2 separate regions of the Homo sapiens genome follow, and region 1 is linked to region 2. The links are contacts of gene promoters, found by promoter capture Hi-C in blood cells and fetal thymus (Javierre and others, 2016). All regions are on one chromosome and are shown on one strand. The core of a region is centred on a gene start or on the middle of the fragment in contact, and the rest is flanking DNA. Distances in the headings are between cores, read along the strand shown.

What was found. The method cuts DNA at HindIII sites, captures the fragments that hold promoters and counts their contacts. A CHiCAGO score of 5 or more calls a contact.
Region 1: a fragment that was not itself captured here is called in contact with the fragment with the promoter of GMEB1 in region 2 in 1 of 17 cell types (neutrophils); the score reaches 5.1 in neutrophils.

What each region holds. Positions count from the first base shown.
Region 1 is chr1:29,207,120-29,211,097 of GRCh38, forward strand. All of the region lies in intron 3 of MECR (mitochondrial trans-2-enoyl-CoA reductase), which reads right to left. Among named protein-coding and RNA genes, the nearest start is that of MECR, 22 kb to the right of the region's middle. RefSeq lists enhancers at 2,100-2,601, 3,370-3,489. The HindIII fragment of the contact is 905 bases long and covers 1,387-2,291 here.
Region 2 is chr1:28,667,242-28,671,558 of GRCh38, forward strand. It overlaps GMEB1 (glucocorticoid modulatory element binding protein 1), which reads left to right and starts at 1,543. Exons shown (of 10, transcript NM_001319674.2): 1 at 1,543-1,598. RefSeq lists silencers at 1,515-1,654, 1,685-1,794, 1,805-2,094 and enhancers at 2,625-2,674, 2,725-2,784, 4,283-4,317. The HindIII fragment of the contact is 26,935 bases long and covers 1-4,317 here.

The DNA.
Region 1 (3,978 bases), core at 589-3,088, 540 kb after region 2:
TCTTTTTAATTTTTTTTTTGGAGACAGAGTCTTGCTCTGTAGCCCAGGCTGGAGTGCAATGGCGCGATCTTGGCTCACTGCAACTTCCGCCTCCTGGGTTCGTGATTCTTATGCTGCAGCCCCCTGAGTAGCTGGGATTACAGGCATGCACTACCATACATGGCTAATTTATTTATTTTTAGTAGAGACAGGGTTTTGCCTTGTTGGTCAGGCTGGTCTTGAACTCCCGGTCTCAGGTGATTCGCCTGCATCGGCTTCCCAAAGTGCTGGGATTACACACATGAGCCACTGTGCCTGGCCCAAAATAGACAGTCATTCTTATCTTAAACATGTAGTAAAAATGGGGTGTGGTGGCTCATGCCTATAATCTCAGCACTTTGGGAGGCAAGGTGGGAGGACTGCTTGAGGCCAGGAGCTCAAGACCAGCCTGGGCAACATAGTGAGACCTTGTCTCTACAGAAAAAAAAAAAAAAAAAATTAGCTGGGCATAATGCCCTGCAGTCCCGGCTTCTCATGAGGCTGAAGTGGGAAGATTGCTTGAGCCCAGTAATTTAAGGACACAGTGAGCTATGATTGTGTGACTGCACTCCAGCCTCGGTGACACAGCAAGAACCTGTCTCAAAAAAACCCAAAAAACAAAAAACAAACCAAAACAAAATATGCCAAATACCATTGTAAGGGCGATTCAGAGAGGCTGCTTCTCTGAGTTACCATTAGATTTAGTTAATGTCACCGTGCAGGTAGTTAATGACCTCAAACTGCTGCAATCTAAGGGTAAGACAGTAGTAACATTACCACCAGGGCAGGAGAAGCTGAGAAAGCCCCCTTTTTCCTACACAGTCCTCATTCTTCTCATCCAGAGCAGGTTGACTCACATGTTTTTTTTTTTTAAGATGAAGTCTTGCTCTTGTCTCCCAGGCTGGAGTGCAATGGCATGATCTCGGCTCACTGCAACCTCTGCCTCCTGGGTTCAAGCGATTCACCTGCCTCAGCCTCCCGAATAGCTGGGATTACAGGCACCTGCCACCACGCCCGGCTAATTTTTGTATTTTTAGTAGAGATGGGTTTCACCATGTTGGCCAGGCTGGTCTCGAACTCCTGACCACAGCTGATCCGCCCGCCTCGGCCTCCCAGAGTGCTGGGATTACAGGCGTGAGCCACTGCGCCCGGCCTGACTCAGGTAGTTTTAGGCAACAAAGCATAAAAGTAGAAGTCAAGAGCACAGATGCCAAACCTGGTTTTGCTATTCTGCTAGTTTGAGAAAATTCCTGTCACTGAGTTTTAGTTACTCTAATGTGTAAATAGCACAGGCAAGAACAGCCTGACTCGCCTCCTCCAGGAGCTACTGTAGAAATCAAATGAGATAAGGAAATGAAAAATTCTATAAGCTTGAAAGAAATGAGCATCAACTCCCAGCCCACATTCCAGTTCCAGACAAAAGAATTCTAGAATGTCAGTACTGAGAAGGCCCTTATCGAACATCGACTTTGAACCCCTCATGCAACAGGGGAGGAAATGAGGAAGTGACTTGCCCAGAGCCCCCTGGCTTATCTAGGCAGAGTTGGAGCTGGAACCTGGGTATCTGGGCTGCCTTCCTTCCATCTACAGATATTTATCTTGCACCCAGGCACTTGAACAATACAGACAGTTTCCTTAGTTTCATTCTAGTGGAGTCGAACAGGTGAAAAAAAGCAGATATGATAATGATAAATTATAAAGAGACAGGAACATCAAGAGAATTACTTTAGATGGGAGTCAAGGATACTTCTCTGAGGAGGTGACAGGCTAAGAGTGAAAGGATAGAGGTGCTACCGTCTCAGAGCACACAAAGAACATCTTAGGTAGGGCATGCAGCAGATGCAGAGATGCTGTAGCAGGACAAAGGACTGGGATGGGATGATGCTGCACCGCAGGGTGGAGAGTGATGGGAAGAGTGGCTTGAGACATGGCTGGCCTGGCTGATGCAGCAGGGGCCGGGCAGGTGATATTAGACTTTCAGAATTCTGACCCACAGTAACCATGAGTTCCACTGTGAATTCGTACATATACATACATGAATGTACGTGTAACACAAGCCTGTGTTTCACAGAATACTTACCCTTACTATGTGTGATACTCTGCTATTTTTCATTCTTTTCTGCTCAACTTTAATTTTAAAAAGTGCTATTTGCAACTCACTAGATTGATTTCTCGAATGGGTCACAACCTGTGGTATGAGAACATGACCTCAGCACTGTGGTATGGAGAACTGATCTTGTTTTAGTGAATGAGTGAGTGGGAAGCCTGTAACAAGCTTTAAGAGGAGACTGAGATGATCCGATGTATGCTTTAAGATCACTTTATTGCTGGGTGAAGACTGTGGAGTGGGGAGGGGCAGCGTGGAAGCCAGAGGTCTTTGTGGGGGTCGAGGTATGAGATGATGGCTGCCTAGTCTGGGACTTTGGCAGTGGGGATGAGGAACAGAAGATGGATTTGAGTTCTATTTTAAAGACAGAATCAATAGGATTTGGTGAGGACTGCGTGAGGGGTCTGCACTCACACAGGCAGGATCTTGTATGAAGAAGGGGTGAAGAGGGTAGGCTTTGGAGTCAGAGAGACTCCAGCCTTGGTTCCACAGTGTCCTCACTGTGTCACCTTAGGGAAATTGCTTGGAGCCTTGTTGGCTCAGCATCTGGTCACAGTGGCAGCTCGGGGCCCTTGGCCTATGCTTCCAAAGCTCTTGGGCATGCCTGCTCACTATCCAGTTGCTGGGATTCTAATGGTGTCCTGGTCCTATGTGGGTCAGCTGTGGGAAGCAGGGGGCAGCCTGGGTAATCACTAACTGTGCTATAGGAAACGGGGATGTCAATGTGGGCTTTAGGGACCAAGAACTGGGGACAGGAGGCAGGAACACTTTTTTTTTTTTTTTTGAGATGGAGTCTTGCTTTGTCGCTCAGGCTGGAGTGCAGTGGCACGATCTCAGCTCACTGCAAGCTCTGCCTCCAAGGCTCCCGCCATTCTCCTGCCTCAGCCTCCCAAGTAGCTGGGACTACACGTGCCCGCCACCACACCCGGCTAATTTTTTTGTATTTTTTAGTAGAGATGGGGTTTCACTGTGTTAGCCAGGATGGTCTCGATCTCCTGACCTCGTGATCCGCCCATCTTGGCCTCCCAAAGTGCTGGGATTATAGGCATGAGTCACTGTACCCGGCCCAGGAACACTTTTTATAGAAGGCTGTGTCAATCCTAGAGTAGGTCTATGGCTGAGAAAATAAGAGACTGAAAAGGCGAGGATTCCTCTGTAATCCAGGAAGTGCCCCAGCATCCTGTGGGCTTCCCCCGGACTGGCCTTCAAATCATCGTTCCCATTCATCTCAGCTAACACTTACTGTACTCTACCGTGCACCAAATGCTTAGTGCAGGGCTTTCTATGTATGAAATCCAGGGCATTTTCTAATTCCCCTTATGGCACGACAATGGAAATCCAACCCTTGATATGGATTTCTGGGGCTTAGCAGTCCCTAATCCTCTTCTCAAGAGACTCTGGGTGGGAGGGAGGCAGCACCCGTGGTCAGAGACAAGGGCTTTCAGGGTTTCAAGTAGAACTCTTAGGCTTGAAGTTGGAGAGACCTGCTTAAAAACCCTGGCTCTACCACTCACTAGTGTGTGACTTTGAATGATCACTTCACCTTTTTTGAGTTTCCATTTCCCTAATCTGTGAAATGCAGAGAGTAACACTTATGTCATAGTGTGAAGATTAAACTAAAGACATTTGTACAGAGACTATCACTATGCCTAGTACACAGTGGGTGTATAACACACATTGTTTTCCTTTAATGATGCTAATTCCCAGACTTTAGCTCTGAGGATTCCCAATTCCTCAGTCATATGCAACTGACCCTTAACCATCTCCATTGTTGAACTTGGGGGTCAGCAAACTGTGGCCTGTGGGCTAAATCTGCCTCACCACTTGTTTTTGTAAATAAAGGGTTTTTTTTT
Region 2 (4,317 bases), core at 293-2,792:
CTAGCTACTGAGGAGACTGAGGCAGGAGAATGGTGTGAACCCAGGAGGCGGAGCTTGCAGTGAGCCGAGATTGCGCCACTGCACTCCGGCCTGGGCGACAGAGCAAGACTCCGTCTCAAAAAAAAAAAAAAAGAGAAACTTACTTAGTAGGGTTGCTGTGAGGATTATACAAGACAGAAGCATCTTCACCAAGCCATAGGCCATAGAAAGGTCTTTTTGTTTGTTTGTTTTTTGAGATAGAGTCTCACTCTGTTGCCCAGGCTGGAGTGCAATGGCCTGATCTCGGCTCACTGCAACCTCCGCCTCCCGGGTTCAAGTGATTCTCCTGGCTCAGCCTTCTGAGTAGCTGGGACTAGAGGCGCGTGCCACGACGCCCGGCTAATTTCTGTATTTTTAGTAGAGACGGGGTTTCACCATGTTGCCCAGGCTGGTCTCGAACTCCTGGTCTCAAGTGATCTGTCCGCCTCGGCTTCCCAAAGTGTGGGATTACAGGCGTAAGCCACCACACCTGGCCATAGAAAGGTCTTAATACGGCCGGGCGCGGTGGCTCACGCCTGTAATCCCAGCTCTTTGGGAGGCCCAGGCGGGTGGATCATGAGGTCAGATATTGAGACCATCCTGGCCAACATGGTGAAATCCTGTCTTTACTAAAATACAAAAAAAAAAAAAAATTGCCGGGCGTGGTGTCGCGCGCCTCTAGTGCCAGCTCTTCGGGAGGCTGAGGCCGGAGAATCACTTGAACCCAGGAGGCTGAAGCTGCAGTGAGCCGAGATCGCGCCACTGCACTCCAGCCTGGCCAAAGAGCAAGACTCTGTCTAAAAAAATAAATAAATAAATAAAAAATAAAGGTCTTAATACTTGTTAATTACTATTACTGACCCCAGGAACTCTCTGAAGCACTTTTCATGCAGGTATCACCTTCTTTAGCACTCACATTATGTCTTATCGGAAACAGGTTTAGAGCTGTCAAGAAATTCCTCCAGAGTCGTTTACACTTCCAGCAGGGGAGTCAAGACTTCAACCCAGAAACTCACAAGCAGGAAAAACTTGGCAAACAGGCACGGGTCAGACAATGCTTAGGGCTTGCTCAAGGACTCGTGACCAGTTACTGATCTATGCAGATCTTCTGATTGCAAACTGATAGCTGGATTGTAACTTGAAGGGTCCGATAAGATGTAAACTTCATAAAACAGGATTTGGGGAGGTAAATGGAGTAGAGTCCTCCAGAGGAGTCGAGAAAGCTAGCTTGGCCCTCAATTGTGGTTGAGGTGATTCTTTCATTTAGGGCCTATTTTCCTCATCTATGAGTGCGGGAAGGAGAGTTACTGGGGTCTCTAGCGACCTTTCCAACACTGATTTTCAAGGGCGAAAGAATTCTGCTTAGGTAAGGCCCAAATCCCTTGGCTAAGGTTAATCCTCGGTGGGACCGGCAATAGGGACGCGTCCCCTTTAAGGCGCCAGCTCTCCGGCGGCGGCGGCCGGAAGTGTTGAAGCCCGGCCTGGCGGCGGCGGTGGCGGTAGCTGCCGTGGCGGCCTCTGCGCATGCTCCGTCGCCTGCCCGCCCTGGCCGCTCGCCGCCCGCCCGCCCGACGGAGACGGTGAGGAGGGGGAGGGGTGGGCGCGCGGGCGCGGGGTGGGGTGGGGGCGGGGGGGCGGGCGCGGGGGCCGCGCGGCGGCCGGCGAGGGCGGGCGGGCGCGCAGGGGGCGGGGGGCTGCTGCCTCCGCGGGCGCCTCCCCACGCCCTGTGCGTGCCGCCGCCGCCGCCGGGGAGCGAGCGGACGTCGCGGCGCCGCGGGGGGGTGGGGGGACGCTGCCGCTGGGTCCGCCCGAGCCGCCGGGCCGCCCCCAGCGCAGCCGGCCGCGCCGCCGGGGCTCGGGCCCCAGACCAGGGCGGCGGGAACCGGCGAGTCCACCACTGGGGGGGCCCCGGCGCCCCCGGACCGAGGGGCCCGGAAGTACTCGGCTCAGGGGCCAGGAGGGGCCGGAGTGACTCCGGACTGAGAGGGCCAGGCGCCCAGGACCCCATCGAGGGGTCCGGGGAGCCTGGGGTATCCCCAAAGGCGGGGTCCGGGGAGCACCGGGCCCTTGGATGAGGAGCTGGTTGGAGGCCTGGGTCCTGCCCAGTGGGAGGGGGACGATAGGTGCTGGAAGCCCGGATGCCCGCCTGGGAGGAGACCCTCTCGGAGCCTTGGCGGGAGAGCAAGAGTACAGAGTGGGTTCTTCTGAGGAGAGCAGAGTCCAGCTTATCCCGAGGGGCGCGGTAGAGGCCTCGGCCACTCAGAACAAGGGAAAAAAGGGCAGGTTTTTTCCAAAGGCAGGGAAGGAAGAGGAGCTCTAAGGGGAAGTGAGCAGGCCCAGGTCTCCCCACAGATGAGCGCGTGGTAGGAAGACTCCTAGAGCCTCCTGAAGTACGAAAGAGCAGCGTCCAAACCTGAGGGGATGGAAGGTGTCTAGGTGCCTCTTGATGTCTAGGTGGAGAACAAAGTAACCCGCTCGGTCAGGGGATGGAGAAACCTATCTTTTTGAGAGAAGCAGAGATCGTTGAGGAAAGATGCTTAAGGTGTTCCCGCTTTCTGAAATGACAGGAATTGGCCAGGTGTTATCTAATTGAGGGGCAGGAGAGATGAAGGCAAAATCTCAACCCGAGGGTCTTTGGAGGATGATCCACAAGACAAGAGGGTGAAGTCTTGACCTAGACAGCAGAGCAGGCGCAGCCCTGGATTCTCTCAAGATGAGAGAAATCTCAAAACCACTTCCTAGTAGACACAGATGGGGCCTTGATTGGTGTCTGTTTAGGCCAATCAAGACGGGTTTTAGGAAAAGAGACTGTCAGACATAATTCTAGTCTTGAGGGATTATCTTCTTCCTCCTTGCCTCTTCTAATAGTTACCAAAGTGCATTTGGGGACCCTTTTTATTTATTTATTTATTTATTTGTTTTTTGAGACGGAGTCTCACTCTATCGCCCAGGCTGGAGTGGTGGCTCACTGCAACTTCCGCCTCCTGGGTTCAAACGATTCTCCTGCCTCAGCCTCCCGAGTAGCTGGGACTACAGGCGCGTGCCACCACACCAGCCAATTTTGTTGTTGTTGTTGTTGTTGTTTGAGACGGAGTTTCACTCCTGTTGCCCAGACTGGAGTGCAATGGCGCGATCTCAGCTCACTGCAACCTCCGCCTCTTGGGTTCAAGCGATTCTCCTGCCTCACCCTCCCGAGTAGCTGGGGCTACAGGCGCCCGCCACCACACCCAGCTAATTTTTGTATTTTTAATAGAGACGGGGTTTCACCATGTTGGCCAGGCTGGTCTCGAACTCCCAACCTCAGGTGATCCCACATCCTCAGCCTCCCAGAGTACTGGGATTACAGGCGTGAATCACTGCGCCTGGCCCAACCAGGCTAATTTTTTTGTGTTTTTAGTAGAGACGGGGTTTCACCATGTTAGCCAGGATGGTTTCGATCTCCTGACCTTGTGATTCGCCCGCGTTGGCCTCCTAAAGTGCTGGTATTACAGGCGTGAGCCACTGCGCCCGGCGGGGGAAACTTATTCAATGGTTGCACCGTCTCCTAATTTGAGAGCCTTATATCAAGGATGTATATTTAATATCTTACTTAAATGATTTTTTTTGGGTTCCTATTTACTTCAGCAAATACATTGTATAGGTAGCTTCTACTCAGCTTCATTGGGTTTATTGTGGGGGCAGTATTTTGGTCTTGCCCTAAGCCAAAGTCCACCGGACTGTAGCGGGATGACTCCAAATAACTCTTATCCCATCGCTCCCTCAAACATCTACATAATAGTCTCCAGTCTGTGACTTAGAATTTCACCTCCTCTGGATACTTCCCTCAGTGTTTCTGCATAATTTACTTGTTGACCTCATTACATCTTGTAGCACTATGGATCACCCACTGAATGCATGAGAAGAAATAAAGGGGATATCAAGGAGTTTTGGCCTCAAGTAATAATAAAGTTTTAACTTGGATTTTTCCCCCCGTTTTAAACAAAACTGTAGTTTAGAGTGGAAATTTCTTTTTTATTTTATTTTTTTGGGGGAACAGAGTTTCCCTCTGTTGCCCAGGTGAGAGTGCATTGCGGGATCTCAGCTCACTGCAAACTCGATCCTCTCAGCTCAGCCTCCTGAGTAGCTGGGACTACAGGTGCGTGGCACTGCGCCCGCCTAATTTTGTTAGTTTTCTGGCGGGCGCTGTGATTTATGCCTGTAATGCCAGCACTGTGGGAGGCCGAGACAGGCGGCCTCCCAAAGTGAGCGGCCTCCTCGGCCTCTCTTTAGCTCGAGTTCCAGACCAGCTTGGGCAACATG